Regions from separate parts of the Homo sapiens genome. Here regions 2, 3 and 4 are each linked to region 1. The links are contacts of gene promoters, found by promoter capture Hi-C in human tissues and cell types (Jung and others, 2019). All regions are on one chromosome and are shown on one strand. Each heading gives the region's core, a stretch centred on a gene start or on the middle of the fragment in contact. The rest is flanking DNA. Distances are from core to core; before and after follow the strand shown. Region 1 holds the start of ABCD4 (ATP binding cassette subfamily D member 4). Region 2 holds the start of EIF2B2 (eukaryotic translation initiation factor 2B subunit beta). Region 3 overlaps PROX2 (prospero homeobox 2). Region 4 overlaps YLPM1 (YLP motif containing 1).

Region 1 (2,642 bases), core at 99-2,598:
AAATGTAGGCCGGGAGCAGTGGCTCACGTCTGTAATTCCTTTATGCACTGCCCGTCGGGAAGTGTAATCCCTGCACTTCGGGAGGCCGAGGCGGGTGGATCACCTGAGGTCAGGAGTTCAAGACCAGACTGGCCAACCCCCCCATCTTTGCTAAAAATACAAAAAATTAGCTGGGTGTGGTGGCGCGCGTCTGTAATCCCAGCTACTCAGGAGGCTGAGGCAGAAGAATCGCTTGAACCCGAGGCGGAGGTTGCAGTGAGCCGAGATCATGCCACTGCATTCCTGCCCGAGCAACAAGAGCAAAACTCCGTCTCAAAAGAAAGAAAGAAAGAAAGAAAGAAAATGTACACGATGGGATACCACCTTACACCCCCCAGACTGATAAACATTACAAAACCAGCCGCCACTGAACGATGGAGGGATACCGGGAAACAGGAAGCTTTATGCACTGCCCGTCGGGAAGTATAAACTAGTGTGACCATTCCAAAGAACAATCCAGCAAAATTAGATATGACCAGGACCCAACTCTGGGGTGGATACCCAGAGAAATGCAACAATATGCACAAGGAGACAACTGCCAGAATATTCGTTACAGTGTGGCTTGTGGGGGTGTTAATACTAGAAAAAAATCTATCCACCACTAGGGGAATAAGTCTATGCACACAGCACCCCTCATGCAAGCACTCAGAAGTGAAAACAAGATGACTAGCATGGATGGACTCAAAAACACAATGTTGAGGAAAAAGGTTTAAAGAAAAATCACAGCATATTATATTGAAGAATTCGAAACCGCTATATAGATTTCAAAGTAACACTTGCACAAATTTACCCAAGGTGGACCGTAAAGCCACTTATATAACACACCAGAGTGGCTGTCTGAAAAGGGGAGTGAAAGGGGTCTGGGAATAGGAACGAAGAGAGGAAGTGATAAAATAAACAAGGAGCCTTGCATTGGCCCACAGGGTGTCAAGAACTGAGAAGGATCAACTCAATTTTGTGCACCTGAGGTTCTTCTTTTCAAAAAAAGAATGCCAGTTGCGAGGGTGAGGGTCCCACACCGCAGGAGATGGCACAAGTCCGGCCAAGAACGGAGGGGGCCGCGGCCGGTGCGGAGCGGCCTAGAGCGGCGGGAGGGCGGACGCCCCTTCGAGAGCTCCTCTTTCTCTCAGAAGTCACGGGGGCGAGACGGGGGCGCCAGGGCGGCGGACGAGGCACGGAGGGCAGGAAAGCCCATTCCCTACAGCCCGGAACTCCTGCTCCCAAACCTCCTCCCCGACCGCCCTGCTTACCTGGCGCCAGCTCCGGGCGCGGGCCCCGCGACCGCCATGACCTGAGACCCGAGGGACTCTGGAGCCCAGCTGCCCCTAGTTCAGTACTGGGTAGAGTCCGAGGAGGGGCGGGGCCCCGGCTACCACAGAGACGGCGTTTGATAGAGAGGAAGGTGCGGGAGACGCGGACTCTCCCGGAAGCGACCGACGTCTCTAAAAGTACCAGAGAGTGGACTCGGCTGACCCGGCGGCTACAGCGCCCCCATATTTTCTGGGAGACTTCCCTTTTGACAATAGGTATCCGAGAGTGTAACTACTTTATGGCAAGTATTTTAGATTCTGTGTATAATAGATGTTTTACATATTCTCCCAGAGAAGCCAGCATGATCTTTAAAAAAGTATAAATTAGGCTTCCAGCCGGGCCCGGTGGGTTACTCCTGTAATCCCAGCACTTTGGAAGGCCAAGGCGGGAGGATCGCTTGAGCCCAGGAATTCAAGACCAGCCTGGGCAACATGGCAAGACCCCGCCTTTACAAAAGACAAAAGCATTAGCCGGGGATGGTGGCGAGCGCCTGTGGTCCGAGCTACTCTGGAGGCTGAGGCAGGAGAATCACTTGGGCCCGGAAGGTCAAGGCTGCAGTGAGCCGTGACTGTGCCACTGCACTCCAGCCTGGGCGACAAAGAGAGACCCTGTCTCAAAAACAAATAAATAGATGATAATGATCGATAGATAAGATAGATAGTTGAATGAATGAAATGCTTATCAGTTGACTGATTAGTACCCAAAGGGAGGTGGGAAATGGCTCAAAAAAAACCCAAACAGCATGATCCCACAGGTCCCTAAATTTGAATCTGGATGTGTCTTCTCACTTTCCTCCAATCCTTATTAAGTTTCAACTGCAAGCCAAACACTCTACAACATGCATGTATCACTTGTCTTTATGAAAGTTGCAGTCTAGCTGGGTAGGTCAATCAGTTGACAATTACAGATTTTTTTTTTTTTTTTTTTTTTTTTGATACGGAGTGTTGCTTTTGTTGCCCCGGCTAGAGTGCAATGGCGCGATATCGGCTCACGGCAACCTCAGCCTCCCGGATTGAAGCCATCCTCCTGCCTCAGCCTCCCGAGTAGCTAGGATTACAGGCATGTGCCACCACGCCCAGCTAATTTAGTATTTTTAGTAGAGACAGGGTTTCTCCATATTGGTCAGGCTGGTCTTGAACTCCTAACCTCAGGTGATCTGCCCGCCTTGGCTTTCCAAAGTGTTGGGATTACAAGAGTGAGCCACCGCTCCTGGCCTTTTTTTGTTTTTGTTTTTGTTTTAGACGGAGTTTCGCTCTTGTGGCTCAGGCTGGAGTGCAATGGTGCTATCTTGG
Region 2 (2,642 bases), core at 42-2,541, 700 kb after region 1:
ATATTGAATTTTGTCAAATGTTTCTTCCTGCATCAATTGACATGATCATGTGGTTTTACTTCTCAGATTGTTAATATGGCATATTACATTGATTTTTAAGTGTTTAATCAGCTTTGCATTCCAGGTTTATGTTTCACTTTGTAATTACATATTATTCTTTTTTTATGTATTGCAGGATTTGATGTGCTAATAATTTGTTGCAATTTTTGCTTCTATGTTCATGAGAGATATTAATCTGTAATTTTCTTTTCTTTGTACTACCTTTGGCTAACTTTGGTATTGACATAATCTTTTTGGAGGGCAATTTGTTAATTGTAACAAAAGTCTAAAATGTGCTCGCCTATGGATTCCACTTTGAAGAATTTATCTTAAGGAAATAGAGATTTCTATTACACACATACTTTGGGTTCAGGTAGACCTGGATTTAAGTATGAACCCAATCCTTTATTAACTGCTTAAATTCTGTGGGTCTGTTTCCCAATCTGTAAAATGGGGATAAGAGGACCTATTTCAGACCTTATTAACTGAGACAATTCACACACAGTGCCCAAGAACCAGTAAGCTTTAAGTAAATGGTAACTCTTGGTATTATGTTATACTCTCTGGCCTCTCTGTAGGAGGACAATTCTGTCCAAATCAGAGGATGTCATCTTTGCTTCTGTATTGGCTCCCACTTTGAATCTCCTTAATCTTCCTCATCTCTAATTTCGCCGTCTTCTGTTAGACGTGTTAGGCCTTGAGAATACAAAAGCAACAAAAGATATCGTCCTTGTTTTCAGAGACATGAACCTCCTAGACACAGGCGCAAACGGTACCAAGCAATGTAACAGAACAAAAGTGAGACGTCTGCCCAAGGGGCAGCCGACCCTGGACATGCATTCAGAGCGTCAGTGTCAGCTGACACTCGGGAGTGACAGCTCGGGCAGTCACCGAGCTGGGAAGACAGGAGGGAGTGCCGCAACTTCTTCAGTGTAGCCTTAAGTCGCGGTGAGGGGCGCGTAGAGACTTGCTGCTCCCATAGCAACGGGACCAGCCACCCTCTACAGGCCTGACGGGTTACTTCCGTTCACCGTCGGCTGAGCCAAGAAAGGCCGCTTCCGATCCTCCAGCCCCCGAGGCGCGGGGGCGCGCGGACGCCCGGTTATAACTGAACAACCCGAGCCCCACGTCTCTGATTGGCTCAGGCAGAGGAAGGGGGCGGGAGATCGGCAACGAAGGGCGTAGCCGGCTTCCACTCAAACTTGAGGTTTCCCCCCATCCCCTCACAGCGGAAGCCGACCTCGCCCGCCCCGGAAGTGCAAACTGTGTGGTCTGGCAGGTGTGGATTCCGCCGGTGAAGGCTGAAGGCAGCTACCTTAAAGATGCCGGGATCCGCAGCGAAGGGCTCGGAGTTGTCAGAGAGGATCGAGAGCTTCGTGGAGACCCTGAAGCGGGGTGGTGGGCCGCGCAGCTCCGAGGAAATGGCTCGGGAGACCCTAGGGTTGCTGCGCCAGATCATCACGGACCACCGCTGGAGCAACGCGGGTGAGGCCGGCCTGCCTCCGCCGGCGAACCTGGCCCCTGTCTGTTCCCGATCCCAGGGCTGAAAATTTCCCAGGCCTCACTTCGCGTTGGCTCCTCTTATCCTCTCTCTTTTGGACTGTAGGGGAGCTGATGGAGCTGATCCGCAGAGAGGGCAGGAGGATGACGGCCGCTCAGCCCTCCGAGACCACCGTGGGCAACATGGTGCGGAGAGTGCTCAAGATTATCCGGGAGGAGTATGGCAGGTCAGGCTCACGTCCTGGGCTCCTGGTTGGATCCAGTGACACTTTTTGCACGGGCCCCTCTACCTGCTCGGAGACTTTATTGGAGCTGAACAGCCCTTGTTACCTGCCTGACCACTCCTCCCCACCTCTCTCTTTGGGTCTTGTTGCCTCTATAGACTCCATGGACGCAGCGACGAGAGTGATCAGCAGGAGTCCCTGCACAAACTGTTGACATCCGGAGGCCTAAACGAGGATTTCAGCTTCCATTATGCCCAACTCCAGTCCAACATCATTGAGGCGATTAATGAGCTGCTAGTGGAGCTGGGTAAGAGGCCTGATCGCTGGGAAAATGGGACTGGTCACAGGCACATAAGGGAACAGAAGCCTCTGAAGGTTGTTCATTAGCAGAGATGGGAGATTAGCTGTCTTCTGGTTCTCAGAGGTTTGTCCTCCTTCCTGATTAGGAAATGTTGCAACAGGTGACAGGACCAAAGTAATCCTCTCTACTTTTCCTTACAGACCAACCCTTGATAGACTACAGATCTGTGGAGTGGAACAGACTCTATTAGGACAGAGTTTTATTTTCATTGTAAAGAAACAAAATGAACTCCCTAGAGAGCCAAGGTCGATAGACCTCCTTCACTATCTGAATTTTTATACACACGTACACGTATACCATTTCTATCCCCCTTGTCATTGCGGTCCAAGTGACTTGCAGATATTCATTGTAATCAGAGGATGAAGAAGCTGCTTCCAAATTGCTCCCCCATTTTTTCTTCTCTGGCCAGTCTCTCTCATGTAGAAGTGTTGTGGCCACCTTTTGGAGGAAGACTTCTTTTAGGCCGAAGCTCTCTTTACCCTATTCTCAGCACTTTAGGATTTCCCAGATTGCCATTC
Region 3 (2,642 bases), core at 68-2,567, 560 kb after region 1:
GAGCCAAATGGAGTTTGGATTTCAGAATTTGTTAGCTTATAAAGATAATACGATGTGTGTACCACACATTAATTAACATCCACAGCTGAGACAGTGTATAATCCAATACATTAACATTTCTGCAGCAGAACGTATGACTATACTAAGTGGGATAAAATCTATTAATAGCCTCCAATCAGTGCAAGCCAGGTTTTGCTACCAAAAAAAAAAGATTGCATCATTCTTAGGGGGGGAAAATCATAGGGCCTGTCAAAGCTTTATGGGTTTCAGAATTGTAGCTAAGTGGTGGTGGGCACATATGTGTGAAGTGCTGGTAGCAATGCCTGCCACCGAGAAGGTGTTCTGTCAATGCTCCCCTCGTGATCTTCACATCTGCCCTACCTATGTCACAGGATGTCATGTGAATGTGAACGTTCTTTTTATGCTGTAAAGCAGCTTGCTCTCAGGTGGCTTTCATGGCCCACAGGAATAAATCTCTTGGAATATAGGCAGCAGGAATGAGGGAAGAGTTGAGGGGCCAGGGTGCTGCTAGGGGGTCCCAAGTCATTCCAAAGATAGTCAAGTACTTCACCCATGCAGCCAGTCCTGGCTTAGGTATTTCTTAGGATAGGCCCCAAACCTCCAGAAGCTCTCTGAGCCCAATCCCCAATTTAGGGGGCAGGAACAGGCACATGTAGGTGCTCAACAAATAGCAAATTCTGGGAGACTGAGGTGTTTTTGCAGCTGTCTGAATTTAATGGAGAGTCAACTAGTGGTTATCAAAGGCCCAGACAGGTAGCCTTTCTTATAAAGAAAATCTGTCTATGGTGGAATCTCTGCCTCCAAGAGTGGTGGCAAGTGAAGTGTTCTCAGCATTGGTTTTACAGTTGCTCGCTAACTTCCAGGAAAGCTTTGGGGTGTTTCCAACACTTTTGACCGGCAGGGGGCGCTCATGGCATTTAGGACACAAAGGCAGGTTCTGGCATGGTAATGAGCTGGTCCCACCCCATCCTGCTGCCCTCACAGTAGTTGCCAGGCAAAGGACACGACTGTTCCCACCTGGATATGCAACTCCATAGACTCATCAGCTTCTGGAGATTCCCCTCAAAGCTGCACACAAGAAGCAGCAGCGTGAGCACAGCTAGCTTAAAAAGCAACATCCAAAATATATTCTCAAGAACTTAAGTTCTGCAAGATGCTTGTTAGAAGTGGTCATATGGGTTTGGGGCTGTGTACATTCTCCTCTTAGAGCTTCCATTTACTCATGTTAAAGGCTCTGAGAATTCCTGCAGAAAAGAAACTATCTCAGTATTTCCCCAAGGTACTTTTTCTTCTAACTCAACAATTATTAATATCCCGAGGGTTACTCTGGGAAATACATTAAGAGAGTAGTGTCTACTTAAGGGTTGCAAAGATGATGCAATAAGATCCAGAGCCCTGCAGATCAGCCTGGGCCACTCAGGCCTCCTCATGGGGAGCCTCCTCTCCCTTCATATGCCCAGCCCCTAGTCTCCAGGCACTCCATTGCACCTTGGAAGTTGTTCCTTAAACTGGAGACCTCTGGCCGTTTCCAGCCACCTCTCTGGGTTTAATCCCCGAGGAAAACTCCTTTTCCATTTGGCCCAGAAGTTTCTTGTTCCTCATCTGCTCCCCAGGAATTATCTACACAATATAGGATTTTTGCTTGTAGAGCTATGGGGTTGGGGAGGCCATACCTTAGATGACGTCATTCCTTTGACCCTCTCCTCCTAAGTTTATGGGTGGCTGACAACCAAATTATGGATTCTTTCTTCCTTAGGGTATTCATTGTATTTCAGAAGCCTATTTGAGTCTCAAAACAAAACCCTTTTAGACCCAAAGGAATAAGTCAAGTGGCAGAACCCGATGGGTCATAGAAGAAGCTAAGTGAACCTTCCCAGGTCCTTAAATTCCAGAATGTGGTCACCACTATAAGCTGAAGGCCCAGAGCAACATTAAGAAGACCCTGAGTGATCTGTCCCCAGCTCCTCTTCAACTTTTAGTTTTCTTGTTTCTCTGCACAGTGTCAATGGTATTTTAAATTATTTATTGAAACATTGTCTCTCTCTGTTGCCCAGCTGGAGTGCAGTGGTGCAATCATAGCTCACTGTAACCTCGAACTCCCGGGCTCAAGCAATCCTCCTGCCTCAGCCTCCTGAGTAGGACTACAGGCATGGGCCATCATGTGCAGATAATTTTTTATTTTTAGAGATGGGGTCTAGCTATGTTGTGCAGGCTAGTCTTGAACACCTGTCCTCAAGTAATCCTCCCACCTTGGCCTCCCAAAGCACTGGGATTACAAGCATGAGCCACACTGCACCTGGCCAACAATGAGAACTTCAATTGCTATTAAAGGATATGTGGACCAAAGAGAAAGGCAGTGCCTCCATGACAGCATGCAGGCCTCTCTGTTCCATCTTCACCGAGGGAAGAAGGGGTAGACTTTCCAGATGGGCAGAGGTGAAAGGCAAGGGACACTGCTGCTGGCTCAGGACCAATGGTTGCGGCTTAGTAGTTCTCCAAGGTCGTAGGGCAGGCTCTGAGGAGGGGTGCCTCTGGGAAGATGAGTCCTGGGGAGGACTGCTACTCCAATGGCCATTGTTGTATCTATGACCCAGTAGCTGGCTAAGAATCTGATTTTCCTG
Region 4 (2,642 bases), core at 74-2,573, 520 kb after region 1:
GTAAACCAGTTTAAATGATTGTCTAAATCAGAATTTGGAGTTGCTTAATGTGAAGTTATCTGTCAAACAAAAAAGTCATACATATCCAATGGATTCCCTCTATTATTTGTTGGTGAAAACTGCAAAATATTTTTTCAGTTTTACTTCGCTTAAAGAGAACCATTTAACATGTTGATTAAGATGTATTAATAAAAATCTAAAACAATGTGCTAAGGACTTTTTGAGATCAGCCTTACTGATGTATGAAGTATGACTGTCAGTTTATGTTTCTTTTCCTGGTATTATACTCCAAAACTAAAGGAACCATCTAAGTATCTTAAATTGATACAGGAAGTTTGAGTCACTGAGCTGCTTCATTGCTTGGGACATGTGTTTCTGACATCAGAGGAGTGCATTTTACATGCAATTACATAAGTTGTGCCTTTAATTTGCCCCAACTACTTGTGTTAGTAGTTGGTATTGACTAGGTTCTGTGTTAAAAGACAGTTCCACGGACTTTATTATTACATTACTGGTATAGGTGCTTTGTTGTCAAGTCTAAAAGATTTTTTTTAGTTTATGTCATGTGAAAATTATATGTGGTTTTTGACATATTCTTCTAGTAGTCTTCCCTCTGTGGGAAATCTTAATAATAACCAATTGTCATCTTCCAGAGACCCTTAAAGCACTTATGTGTTTAAATGCAATTAAATATGTAGGAAAATAAAAATTACAAAATACTTTTAAAATAATAATAATGCTTTAGTTCTGCTTATTTCGACGTTAGATTAACTCTCTGTGAAGTTCTGTACATTAGAATGACCCATAATATGCCAAGATCATTTCTCTCTTCTGGTTCTCTTAAATATTGATTATCCTTTAGGGCAAAGAGAGATCATAAATAAAGATAGTTAAGGGGAATGTAAAAGTGATAAATATTAACTTGTAATCTCTAGAGGCCTCATGTAATACATGATCTGGGGTAATGCTGTTTTAAACTCAAGCCAGTCCATCTTTTACTTTTCTTTCTGTTTTTAAAAGGAAAAGGGAATTTAGTTGTGATGATTATTCAAGAATATATATTAATATTGGTATTTCTTGGAATTTCTGGAAAACATTCTGGCCCGTCTACCATTTGCTTCTCAGAAAAAAACATTTTATACAAATTTTCAGTTTTAAAGACAGAATAGTAGACAATGAATTCCAGAAATGGATTTTTAAAACAAACCATTTCAGTGAAAGGCACTGAAGATCTGGTAATAAATCTAGGAAATAAATTTTAACATATTTACAGTCGGGTTTTTATTTTTTAACAAGAGTGATAGTGATGTTGTATATAAGGACTTGTATCTTGCACCACTGTATTGAGAGCTAATCCCACCACAGAGGAAGGCAAATTTAGTGTGCATTCTTGAAAGTGCTTAGTACTTTGAGGTTGGTCCATTGAGCCAACTGAGAAGATTCTTCTCTAAAACATGAGGATCTTGTGTCGGATCTTGTAGCCTATTTATGTTGCCTTCCTTATCATAACAAATTTAATATAATTTGATTACCAAGTACAATTTATTTTTCTGAGTACTTTACCAACATTCTCCAATTACTCTTGGAAAATGATTATACTGGGTGGAAATGTATTAAGTTTTAGCAGTGTCACATGTTGAGCAAAAACAGTTGAATCTGAAACAGAGGAATTTTGATTCACAAATGAGTCTGCCAGTGAGAACATACTTACCTATAGTCTTTGAAGCAGCTGGTTAGAGCTTATTGCAGATTCTTGGTCTATGCTCATTAAGTTTAGTACACAGTTCAGCCTGTGCCTGAATGTTAAATTGGAAGTGATGTGATTTTTAGAACAGTTCAGAACAGGCCTGAGCTACCTCTGGCATGGAGTTGTTGAAGGCTGCCTGTGGCCCACCTTCAGTCCCACCAGACTGGTTCTTCCCTGCTGGGACACAGGCATCATAATGCAAGGGCAGGTTGTTACTTGCCACATCAGGTGGTGGGATTCAGCATTGAAGCTACTTAAACTCCAGTGACATGATTTTAGTTTCTCATACTGTGAAGCTAGAATATTTGAGACTGTTACCATCCTAATTTAGGTTTCTTCATATAAAGTACTTTTGCTTTTCTCATCTCAGTGTCATTTGTCTCTACTCTTGAGTTGTATATTGGTTTTCTACATGTCAGACAGATTCATCTCTTCAGAGTTGGAATATAATTATTATTTGTATAGGTGCATAATCTTGTATGTTTACGTTGAACAGATTTTCAGAAATACCATTTACATTTAGAAAATACATAGATGTATCTAAGGAATTTTTCTGTTGTGCTATAATACATACTGTTTCAAATATGTGGTAAAATTCTGTGACCTGCCATATTGGATTTAAAACTTCATCTTCATCTTAAAACTTCATCTTTTGAAATCTCTGAAAATCATTAGTGTGCATGTATTGAACACCAGTCTTTATTCTGTAATTAACACCCCAGATTTCTTTCCCCTCACCTTATGCCATCCATCTGTGTGTTTGGTTTCCAGTATGCCATGTGGAAGAGGTGTGAGCCTTTCTTCAGCCCAAGAAGGAAACTTTAAACATATTTGCACAATAAAATTTCAAATTAAACATTTCAAAAAGGGTGCTCAGACTAGAAATACATGCTCT

Evidence for each region. Contacts are between HindIII fragments. The study calls those that stand out against the background at their distance.
Region 2: the fragment with the promoter of EIF2B2 here is called in contact with the fragment with the promoter of ABCD4 in region 1 in 1 of the 25 tissues and cell types used here (stomach).
Region 3: a contact is called between a fragment that was not itself captured here and the fragment with the promoter of ABCD4 in region 1, in 1 of the 25 tissues and cell types used here (aorta).
Region 4: a fragment that was not itself captured here is called in contact with the fragment with the promoter of ABCD4 in region 1 in 2 of the 25 tissues and cell types used here (heart right ventricle and mesenchymal stem cells).

The regions. Positions count from the first base shown.
Region 1 is chr14:74,301,586-74,304,227 of GRCh38, forward strand. It overlaps ABCD4 (ATP binding cassette subfamily D member 4), which reads right to left and starts at 1,349. Exons shown (of 19, transcript NM_005050.4): 1 at 1,290-1,349. The coding sequence starts at 1,327. It also overlaps a transcript of VRTN not described here. RefSeq lists a silencer at 1,098-1,177 and an enhancer at 1,438-1,797. The HindIII fragment of the contact is 36,493 bases long and covers 1-2,642 here.
Region 2 is chr14:75,001,630-75,004,271 of GRCh38, forward strand. It overlaps EIF2B2 (eukaryotic translation initiation factor 2B subunit beta), which reads left to right and starts at 1,292. Exons shown (of 8, transcript NM_014239.4): 1 at 1,292-1,524; 2 at 1,646-1,766; 3 at 1,922-2,070. The coding sequence starts at 1,362. RefSeq lists enhancers at 839-928, 970-1,650. The HindIII fragment of the contact is 11,364 bases long and covers 1-2,642 here.
Region 3 is chr14:74,860,173-74,862,814 of GRCh38, forward strand. It overlaps PROX2 (prospero homeobox 2), which reads right to left. Exons shown (of 6, transcript NM_001243007.2): 3 at 2,358-2,642. Among named protein-coding and RNA genes, the nearest start is that of PROX2, 15 kb to the right of the region's middle. The HindIII fragment of the contact is 3,852 bases long and covers 1-2,642 here.
Region 4 is chr14:74,824,854-74,827,495 of GRCh38, forward strand. All of the region lies in intron 18 of YLPM1 (YLP motif containing 1), which reads left to right. Among named protein-coding and RNA genes, the nearest start is that of PROX2, 50 kb to the right of the region's middle. The HindIII fragment of the contact is 7,009 bases long and covers 1-2,642 here.